4 separate regions of the Homo sapiens genome follow, and regions 2, 3 and 4 are each linked to region 1. The links are contacts of gene promoters, found by promoter capture Hi-C in human tissues and cell types (Jung and others, 2019). All regions are on one chromosome and are shown on one strand. Each heading gives the region's core, a stretch centred on a gene start or on the middle of the fragment in contact. The rest is flanking DNA. Distances are from core to core; before and after follow the strand shown. Region 1 holds the start of SHROOM1 (shroom family member 1). Region 2 overlaps CARINH (colitis associated IRF1 antisense regulator of intestinal homeostasis). Region 3 has its middle 11 kb from the start of IRF1. Region 4 overlaps RAD50 (RAD50 double strand break repair protein).

Region 1 (2,638 bases), core at 92-2,591:
GCAGGTTTCAGTGAGCAGAGATCCGGCCACTGCACTCCAGCCTGGGCGACAGAGGGAGACTCTGTCTCAAAAAAGCAAAACAAACAACAAAAGTCTTTCAAAGCCGAAAGGTTCTTAGGCACTGTCTTAAAGCCTAGCGCTCCAGCTGAAGCTGGTGCCTGAGTCCAGATGGTGTTGAAGAAGGAGCAGGGCCCAGCGGGCACCACTCTCAGAAGTCGGGCTCAGGTGTCTCCTGCCTCCGAACCCAAGAAGACCCAAGAAGACAGAGTTCCTCAGGCTCCCAGTGTCCCTAGGAAGTGGCAACCTTGACTCTTGGCCAGAGTTCAGAGTCCTGGTTATTAACACCAATAAACCTTTATTTGCCAGGGATACTACCATGGGAGGACACAGCCCCTGAGCCCAGCCCTGTTGATCCTGTGGGAGCGGGAGGGCAGCGGAGGACAAAGGCAGAGACCTGAGAGCCGGAGAGGCTCATCAAAGGGTCCCCAGCCCCTCTCAGGAACGGAGCATTTCTTGGCAGAGTGGTATTCATAGGACAGAGTTTGGGAAGTCGGGGCAGGGGAGCCTGAGGACACAGCAAGGAGAGCTCAGTGGCAGGTGCAGGCAGAGCGTTCTTTGGAAAATGGAGATCCTGGAAGGTGAGGGCCTCGAGCGCCAGTGTCCAGCCTTAGTGGGTATGCATATGTCCAGCTCCCTAAGGACACACTCAGGACAGCTAAGGTGCACACAAGTCCAGGGGCTTCCCCGTGCTCCGCCCCCCTCTCCCCCACCCCGGTAGCAGGCTGGAGGGCCCAGACCATGCTGGGTAGTGGGAGAAATGGAAAGAAATGGGACAGGGAACAGGAGACAAGAGCCCATGGTGGGAGTCAAAGAGCTGGAAGAGTTTTGGAAATGGGGGTCTGGGGGTAGAGTTGATCAAGGGCCGAGTTACTCAGCGGGACAGGTGGGAGGCACGAGGCCCTGGCAGCTCTGTTTTCTTGGCCGGGCTTGGGGGGGAAAGCGGGTAGCCGTCAGGCGCCTAAGGGCCCGCCCTGGACCTCCCCACCGAGGGAGGTGTCAGGCCCCGAGGGACCCGGCCCCCGAGCATCACGGACGCGCTGGAGGCCGGTGGGCGGTCGCCGTAGTCGCCCTCCCACCACCTCGCTCAGGTTTCTCCGGCCTGGGGCAAGAGGCCTGTGGCCCGCGCGGGAACGCACTGTCCACCCTCAGACCTGGGACTGGGCCGGCGCGCGGACGCTACCAAGAGGCTGCGGCTCCCGCCCCCGCGGCCGGACGTGGCGCCTCCCCTGAGGCCGCGGCCGGAGCCTGGAGGTGGGGTCGGAGTCAGAGCCCGGGGCTCTGATGTCACCGCGCGGCTGCGACGGCCCAGGAGCGCGTCTCGGCGGGAGCCTCAGGTACGCGGCGGGGGCGGGGGAGCGGGAAGCGGGCGGCTGGGTCCGCTTCCCCCGGGAGGCCGGCGGGGCTGCGGGCGGACGGGGGTGAAGAGCGGGCGGCGAGGCGGTGGTCGCGGGGCAGCCCGGGCATCGTTCGGCCGGGACGTGTCTGGCTCGGCGCCGCGTCAGGTTGCGCCAGTGGAGTCGGACCCCAGCGCGCCTCTCCCAGCTGCAGAGCTGCAGGGCGGAGAGGCGGCCCACTCTAAGCTGGCGGCGCGGCTCAGGGGCGCGGCTGGGCGCGCCGCGTGTGGCGCCGGCGGGCAGCGCGGTCTCACTCCGCCACCCTCCGCTCCTGCCCTTTGTCGCCAAGCATCTGGAGAAGCCGGGTCCTTCCCTCCCGGGCTCGCGCTGTCCCCTGCGCGCGATCCTTCCCCGACGGTGAACCCAACGGGAAAGGCCCAGAACTGCGCGGGGCTGCGGCCATCTGCTGTCGAGCCGCTCCGCGTGTCTCTGCCGCCCCCTGCGGCCGCCGGGGCCTGCGCCTCTCTCCCTCCCGTGCCTCGGCTCCCAGAGATTGAACCCCAGGTAACCGGGTCTGTCCACGCCCGCGGCCGCCTCTCCCCGGGTGTCGCCAGCTTCCTGCATTTCCTGTGCATGGCACGGAGCTCGGGTCTCCAGAGACTCTGCATCTGGGGTGCAGCGACCGATGAGCCCGTAAACCAGTCGCACACTCGGAGCGTGGATGCTGCGTGGGGTGCGCTGTCAGCGCGGACAGGCTGGGAGAACGGGGGACGCTGGGGACAGGGAGAGCCGGTGAACTTCCCAGAACGTCCGCCTAGCCAGACCCAGCTGCGGGTACTGGGTTTTGAGACGTGGTCCAGTACCCAGGAACTCAGTCTGACAGGGAGACAGCGCCTACACAGTGAGCCCAGTACTGAGGGAAGACCCGCTGGGAGGGGCGGCCTGGATAGCCCCTCCACAGAGAGGTCAGATGTGAGGTGGCCTTGAGGGAGGTATGATGTAAATCCTGATCATTCGTTGTATTTGAGGCTGTCCGTTCTCCTGTGCCTCCTCGGTCGCCTTACTTGGATCTGTTCCCATTGCCTTGGTGTGATTTTATCCACCGGAAACTGTCTTCAGCTATTTCCCCAGTAACCTCTAACTAAAAACCTGGGTCTTGCCTGGTCTACCCTCCCCTGCTGAACTCCAGAGCCACATCCCAACTGCTGCCTGACTTGTCACAGACACCATGAAGCCCAGACTGA
Region 2 (2,638 bases), core at 91-2,590, 400 kb after region 1:
TTTGGGTTTTGCTGACAGTGAGGAGCCACTGAGGTATTTTAAACAGGGCAAGCCATGGTCAGATCTGAGTTTCATAAAAGCAATTCTAGCACTAGGGTGAAGAGCCGGGGGGTGGGGAGACAGGGAAGCAACAGGCAATGAAAAGACCATTTAAAAGGACACTGCACTGATTGGTACAAGGTTTCAACAAGGGGCAACTGGAAGTATATACAACTTACTATGTATATACCCTTTAACTCAACAGTCTCAATTGTAGAAATCTATTTTATAGAAACACTAGCACAAATGCATAAAAGTATAAAAATGAGGATGTAGTGGCCTATAAATATTATCAGGACATTGAAAAACTTTGTGGTCATCTGTAGGGGAGGAGATGAACTAGCAGTACATCTACGTGGTGGAATACATACCAAGCAGCCTTTAAAAAGAAGACAGCAGGTCTCTATGTACTGTCATAGAGAAATATACACAATAGACTGCTATTTGTAAAAAGCCGGTTGCTAGCCGGGAGTGGTGGCTCACGCCTGTAATCCCAGCACTTTGGGAGACTGAGGCGGGTGGATCACCTGAGGTCAGGAGTTTGAGACCAGCCTGGCCAACATGGTGCAACCTTGTCTCTACTAAAAATACAAAAATTAGTTGGGCGTAGTGGCGGGTGCCTGTAATCCCAGCTACTTGGGAGGCTGAGGCTGGAGAATCGCTTGAACCTGGGAGGTGGAGGTTGCAGTGAGCCAAGATTGTGTCACTGCACTCCAGCCTGGGCAACAGAGTGAGACTCTGTCTCAAAAAAAAAAAAAAAAAAAAAGCCAGTTGCTGTACAAAGTATATAGCATGCTCCCATTTTCATGAACAAAGCTGTGCATACGTATATTTATAAAGATCCACATTTGTTTGTATAAATAAGTCTGGAAAGAGATATATCAACTGTTGACAGAGGTCACCTCTTGAAGGTGGTAGGGCTTTCACTTTTTACTTTCTATGTTGTTTTTATTTTCTTTGGTGCTTTTCTATAATATATTTTCTACTTCTTAAAATGATGAAGATGGTTCATTTCTCTTATCAGAACACAAAATTTTAATTTAAAAAGCTTCATATCTACTTGGAAAACCATATAAAAATTCTTTATATTGTATTTCCAGAGAAGAAATAACAAAAATCTCCTAGAATCGTTGAGAGGGCTGTCAGCGGCCTGGTCTCGGTAAAGAGAAATTAGAGATGAGTTGGAATAGAGCCGAACACAGGGTGGTGAAGACAGAAGTTCCAGAAGAAGCCAAGAGTGCTATCTTGAGTAGTGGGCAGGTGACCCACAGAAGGGCGGTGGGTGGGAAGTAGGAGTGAGAGGGGTCTGTGCTGAATGTGCCAGCCTTCAGGAGGCTCAGGCCAGGACAGGGTGTATAAACAAGAGGTGACGCTGGCTCCTGCTTTAGAACTCAGGAGAGTATTTAGGCCTAAACACTTATGACCTACAAAAGATTAAAAACTTACCAACAGTACTCACCAATGGACTAAAACGCTAATTGTAAACAGTGAAGTCATTGAAAAACCAGAAAAATATTGGTGAATACTTATCTAAGGGGGGAAGAATTTTGGATAAAAGAGCAAACAGCATTTTAAAGAAATTTTAGCCATATTAAAAACAAACACCAAGACTTTAAAAACAGAACTCATAAACAAAATCAAAAGACAAGCAAAAACAAGGAATTATATTTACAGCAACACTGACAGAAAGGACATGTCCTTCATATATAAAAAACATATGGTTGGGTGTGGCTCATGCCTGTAATCCCAGCACTTTGAGAGGCCAGCATGGGTGGATCACTTGAGGTCAGGAGTTTGAGACCAGCTTGGGCAACATGGTGAAACCGTGTCTCTACTAAAATACAAAAATTTAGCTGGGCATGGAGGCTTGCGCCTGTAATGCCAGCTACTCAGGAGGTTAAGGAAGGAGAATCGCTGGAATTGAGGAGGCAGAGTTTGCAATGAGCTGAGATTGCACCACTGCACTCCAGCCAAGGAGACAGAGTGAGACTTCATATAAAAAAAAAAAGCAAAAAACAAAACAACAACAACAACAAAACCCAAAAAACACAGATGAGTTTGTAATCAGTAATAAAAATACACTCTCCAAAGAAAAACAGCACTGGAGCTGGGCATGGTGGTATGTGCCTGTAATCCCATCTACTCAGGGGGCCAAGGTGGGAGGATTGCTTGAGCCCAGGAGTTCAAGGCCAGCTTGGGTAACACAGCAAGATCCCATCTCTATAAAAAATAAGTTAGCCAGGTATGGTGGTGCACACTTGTAGTTCTAGCTACTCTGGAGGCTGAGGTAAAAGGATTGCTTGAGCCCAGGAGTTCGAGGCTGCAGTGAGCTATGATTGTGCCACTGCGCTCCAGTCTGGTTGACAAAGCAAGGCCCTGTCTCTTAAAAAAAGAAAGAAAAAGAAAAACAGCATTGATTATGGTATTGTGTATTATAAACATTATTTTGTATTGGTTAGAATTTTGTTCAGTTACATAAAACAGAAAACAATAGTGGCTTAAGCAAGATGGGATTTTCTTTCTTTCTCTCACTGAAAAAAAAGGTCTAGAAATGATCAGTTCAGGGCTGGTTTGGTGACTTCAGGTGTCACCAGGGACC
Region 3 (2,638 bases), core at 77-2,576, 350 kb after region 1:
ATGTACTGTGACCCCGCTCACTAGGCCCAGCCCTCGGGAAGAGTGTGGGCCCTTGAAAAGGGAAGACTGAGTGAGAAAATGATGAGAAAACTACAAAATGGGCAGAGGTCAGTCTGACACATTCATTCTCTGTCAAGCTCAGGAAGTACTGGTCCCTGATCTTGGAGATGCTGTGTGAGTGGCAGGGGGACTCCTGCTGGGTAAATATTCTATATGTGGATGCCTGGACAGGCCCCTATCCCAGGCCCTGCTTGTCAGAAGCTCCCCTTGGGCCGAGCGCGGTGGCTCACACTTGTAATCTTGGCACTTTGGGAGGCCGAGGCAGGTGGATTGCCTGAGTTCAGGAGTTCAAAACCAGGCTGGGCAACATGGTGAAACCCTGTCTCTACTAAAAAAAAACTAACCAGGCGTGGTGGTGCATGCCTGTAATTCCAGCTACTAGGGAGGCTGAGGCAGGCCAATCACTTGAACCCAGGAGGTGGAGGTTGCAGTGAGCTGAGATCACGCCACTGCACTCTAGCCTGGGCAACAGAGCGAGACTCTGTCTCAAAAAAAAAAAAAAAAAAGAAGTTCTACTTGGAAGCTCCACTTGGATTTCTCAAGAATAGCTTCACCTGGGAACAGAGGAATAGACAGGATGGACTTTTCCAGCTCCTTCAGGGACCAGCCCTTTTTAAGATTTGGATTGAGGTGGCTAGCCACCTGTGGCTTCCATCTGGGTTCTCCTAGTGGGTGATGGCAGGTGGTGCAGAGCAAGGTAGAGTGGACTGACGGGAGGAAAGTGATACCACCCAGAACAAGCAGCAGCTCTGACTTCTTTTTCTCCTGCCCTTCAATCTAATCCCTGATGGAGGGTAGGCAGTGAGTATGTGAAGTCTTAGGCAGCTGTGGAAATCTCTCAAGTTCTAAAAGCAAAGTTAATTGCTTGTAAATTACCAAAAAGAGAGAGGAATTATGTCCATCAGCTTCCAATCTCCACAACCAAGATGTAGTCCTCAATTTCCCCATCCCCTCTGATCCCAGGAGTCCTAAATGATTGGTAGCAATTGCTTGGAATCTCCAGGGAGGGACCTCAAAACTCTCCCCTGGCCCCCATCACAATGGAGCTGGGTCCTAGGGACCAAGCCTGGAGTAGTGTGGGATAGAGCCAGACCTTTCAGGATGGAGAGCTGTCCCATCACATCCTACCAAGACTTCAGCCTTTTCCTAGGAAAAGAAACTAAATAAGGTCTGACAGCTCACCTAAAGGTGATGGCAGCTGACACTACCGAGTCATTAGCCAAACAGTGCCTGAAACGGAGCAGTATTAGTAAGATCTGAACCAAGTTTGTGCTTAATAATTAGATCATTCTAAGGACCTGACAGTGCTTCTGTGGGTCATTCTCAAGAGTTTCAGTATAAGCACTAATGGTGGAAGTTCTAGGTTGAGGGAGCTAGGAGGTTGTTGAAAGATCTGTTTTGCTGGGGTTGTGATGAGATAACTGTCATCAAGGACCACTTTCCACTGGGGTAAACTGACAAAAGTGGTGCTCAGCCACACCAGCTAGATTTCTCATGTTGGGCCAAGTTTACAGACATTTGCGGGCATTTGTGGTTAGTCATGGGTTTCCTTGCCTTAACTCCAAAAGGGTATAGCTGGCTGGTCACTTTCATTGGGCTGGTTTATTCATTCAGCTCACTTGGCAATAGGAAGAAAGCTAGAAGCTAATAGGCAAACCATCCCTTCTTGGTGTGTCAGCTTTCAACATCTCTCAGTGCACTGTGTGCAGGGTGTTGTGACCATTACAACTCCAAAGGAAAGAGCTTTCTCTGATTTTTCTGGAAGTCTCCAGTGGGGCCTGCCAAAGTGGGAACTGAAATCCTGGGGTAGCCCTGGGAAGTGGAGTTTTTTTCTCTAGGAGTGATGTCTCCTGGTTGGTGGGGCTGGGAAACAGCCAGGTTGTCATTCTCTGGGACCACTTGATCTTTCACACTGTGTACAGATCCAAAACTCTGCCCTTATACTTGGAGGGGAAAGGGGGTACAGATGTCCTCCAGGCAGTCCTGTTGGAGCACCCAGGGCTAATATAGTGACCCTATAGAAAGCTTTTGTCTCTGTCAGATGTAATGCTGTTCCTTAACTTGGGCACAACTGATCTTCCAATTCATCAGAACTCAGCACTAACCTTTCCCCAGTTCTGCTGGCTGTCACAGAGGAAGGAGGCCTGGGGTGGGAGAAGGGGAAGCTGGTGCCCTCCTTTTCCAGGGGTGAAAGTACTTGGCAGGGTGGAGCTTGGCTTTATCATCCGGAGCTCCCTTGTGGGGCCAAGTCTAAGGCCTCAGAAGGGTATAGCTGGCTGGCCGCATAGTTTTCCTAGCTCCAGGCAGCTCTCAAGAGACCCATTTATGCTGGTTTTCTCAGGGTAAGGAGTTACAGAAGTCCACCTCTGCTGGCTCAGTGGTAAGACACAAGCCTGCAGAGTCTGCTGAGTGAAACTTCAGCTGGGGAGATACTGGAGGCTATGGAGCAAGGACATGGGGACTGAATGAAAGAGGGGAGGCAGACGTCCAGCCCACCATTCCTCACCCAAGGAGATGATCCCACAAGCTCACAAATGAGCAGAACTGGAAAAGACCTCAAAGTGTGGCTGGATAATGG
Region 4 (2,638 bases), core at 60-2,559, 260 kb after region 1:
AGTTGTTTCACATACTTTTCCAGTGTTACAGTTATTCATCTTGCGAGTATAAGTGTGATACTCATTATTTTGTTGCAACCCAAATCACAAGTACTGGATTCTGCTTTAAAAAAAAAAAATCATTAAAGATCCTTTGCTGACTTTTTAATGACTTCTTGGCATGAATTTAACTTTGATACTAATTCAATTAATCATTCAACAAATATTTACAGGCACTTTGTAGGTTTCATGTGTTGTTTTGGTTCAAACTGACAGACTTTTTTTCCTTTGAAGCATGCAAGATAGGTTAAATGTAGACAAGGTGTGCTAAACACCATCATAAGCACAGGATAATCTGGGAGTACAAAGCAGGAGCATCTAACCTATCTAGGACAGCTCAGGGAAGGTAGTCTAAAGGAAGTGAATGTTTAAATGAAACTTCTACCAATCTGGGTAGAAGTTAACCAGATGAGAAGATCTGAGTCACTACGTGACTACAGAAATTTCAGAATGTTTGGCATAGAAAGTAGGGAAAAGAAGAGTATCAACCTAAAATGTTTCAGAAATTAACAGCCTTCTAAACTTGGTAAGGCTTTTGGATTTAAGGTGATGGCACTAAATGGTTTGAACCAGGGGAATTGCATGAAGTAGATATGCATTTTAGAAGAATTATTTTGTCTTTAGGGTGAACAGAGTGAACTGAGACAAGACATGAAGCAGGGAATAATCGAGGAGAGATAGGAAGGCAGCCTGGACAAGGGTTGAGGATGGAGGTAAAGAGGAAGAAGTCGCTGAACTGGCTACTCAGAAACAGCCTCTTAGGATACAGACATTTCAATGAGGAGGTGGCCAGAGGTCAGTATAAAGCTTTGAAAGCCCAGACTTGACTCTGTCATTTCATCATAAGGAGAGCATTCTGCTGAAGGTTTAATCCACAGTAGTTGAACTAAGGAGCTATGTATTTATGCAGCAAAAAATTAATTTGTTTACAGTGTTCCTGAGTAGCAAGCCAAATACACATACTCTTTCTCCATGGCATCTACTTTTCGAGGACCTAGCTACCCGGCAAACATCAAATTAGTAAATAGAATTCAAGCAAGGGCTATCTTGTAGCATTTCTATCACTACATTGTTGTTGACACTCTTATTGAAGAAGAGTCACTTCAAAAGTGAAGTGTAATTTAGATTGAATTATTAAAACAAAGAAATGTGTATTATACTTCAGAACAATTTCTATCAAAAAGAATAAAATAAAAAATAAGAAAAACCCTTCTTTCTCCAAACAATCTAGTTGTAAAACCATTAGGTGGGGCAGAAGAAGGTGCGTGTTCATGCCAGCTGAAGGTTAAGGCACCTATAACTCAGCCTAGAGTGGAATAAATGAGCTTGAGTAGGCTGAGAAGGGTACCCTCATGGGGAAACAGCTTGGCATAGACAGAGTTTCAAGAGTCCAATGGTATCAGAGTTCCAGCAGGATGAAAGAGGAATCCACAAATAGGGGGGATCCAGCTCAGAAGCAGAGTGTCCACGCCAGGGAATAGTGTGGGGATTCAGAGCCTGATAATGATGAGAAGGGGGCCCACCTGAGGGTTAAGTCGGCTAGGGGGAAGTCAGATCATAGAGTAGAGACGGCATTCTTGCAAGAAGCCACCTGGTATAAAGTATCAGACTGAGAAGAGTGACCCTCTCAGTGACACAGATCTGGGGAGATTCAGGTCAGAGTACAGTGGGCATCCCTGCAAGAGGCCACCTGGTATCAGAGAAGGGCGGGGAATGAGGACATGATCTAGCACCAGAAGTCAAAGTGTATACAGAATGGAAAAGCATCCCATGAGGGAGTCAGAATGAAGAGTCAAGAGCCTACGCAGGATAAGGAAGACTGGCATACAGGGATGGAGTCAGCCCATATGAGGTGCTAGGGCCCTGATGCAACGATGAGACATTGATTACATACAGGAGGATTGATTAAGTCAATATATTAAGATTATGGTTGTATAAGTACATTCTTGCACTGCTATAAAAAAAAAACCTGAAACTGGGTAACTTATAATGAAAGGAGGTTTAATTGGCTCACAGTTCCACATGCTATACAGGAAGCAAGACTGGGGAGACCTCAGGAAACTTACAATCATGGCAGAAGGCAAAGGGGATGCTGGCACATCTTACATGGCTGGAGCAGAAGAAAAAGAGTAAAGGGGGAATTGTGACAGATTTTTAAACAACCAGATCTCATGAGAATTTACTCACTATCATGAGAACAGCAAGGGGGAAATCTACCCCCATGATCCAATCACCCCAACCAGGTCCCTCCTGCAACAAGTCCTGCAGACTTCTGCCTGGACATCCAGACGTTTCCATACATCCCCTGAAATCTAGGTGGAGGCTCCCAAGCCTCAACTCTTGTTCTCTGCGCAACCCCAGGCTTAACACCATGTGGAAGCTGCCAAGGCTTACAGCTTGCAGCCTCTGGAGCAGCAGCTTAAGATATATCTGGGGCCCTTTTAGCCATGGCTGGAGCTGGAGTGGCTGAAACACAGGGAGTAGTGTCCTGTAATGGGAGGGGCTGCTGTGAAGATCTCTGAAATGCCTTCTAGCCATTTTCCCCAGTGTCTTGGCTATTAAACATTCTGCTCCTCTTTACTTATGCAAATTTCTGCAG

Evidence for each region. Contacts are between HindIII fragments. The study calls those that stand out against the background at their distance.
Region 2: a contact is called between a fragment that was not itself captured here and the fragment with the promoter of SHROOM1 in region 1, in 1 of the 25 tissues and cell types used here (heart right ventricle).
Region 3: a fragment that was not itself captured here is called in contact with the fragment with the promoter of SHROOM1 in region 1 in 1 of the 25 tissues and cell types used here (IMR-90 fibroblasts).
Region 4: a fragment that was not itself captured here is called in contact with the fragment with the promoter of SHROOM1 in region 1 in 2 of the 25 tissues and cell types used here (hippocampus and lymphoblastoid cells).

Annotation. Positions count from the first base shown.
Region 1 is chr5:132,829,350-132,831,987 of GRCh38, reverse strand. SHROOM1 (shroom family member 1) reads left to right here and starts at 1,341. Exons shown (of 10, transcript NM_001172700.2): 1 at 1,341-1,394. RefSeq lists silencers at 1,033-1,452, 1,663-1,972. The HindIII fragment of the contact is 17,651 bases long and covers 1-2,638 here.
Region 2 is chr5:132,431,946-132,434,583 of GRCh38, reverse strand. All of the region lies in intron 2 of CARINH (colitis associated IRF1 antisense regulator of intestinal homeostasis), which reads right to left. Among named protein-coding and RNA genes, the nearest start is that of LINC02863, 6.6 kb to the right of the region's middle. The HindIII fragment of the contact is 9,906 bases long and covers 1-2,638 here.
Region 3 is chr5:132,478,385-132,481,022 of GRCh38, reverse strand. No RefSeq gene overlaps it. Among named protein-coding and RNA genes, the nearest start is that of IRF1, 11 kb to the left of the region's middle. RefSeq lists enhancers at 1,442-1,691, 1,702-1,751. The HindIII fragment of the contact is 3,842 bases long and covers 1-2,638 here.
Region 4 is chr5:132,564,662-132,567,299 of GRCh38, reverse strand. All of the region lies in intron 2 of RAD50 (RAD50 double strand break repair protein), which reads right to left. Among named protein-coding and RNA genes, the nearest start is that of RAD50, 9.0 kb to the right of the region's middle. The HindIII fragment of the contact is 5,353 bases long and covers 1-2,638 here.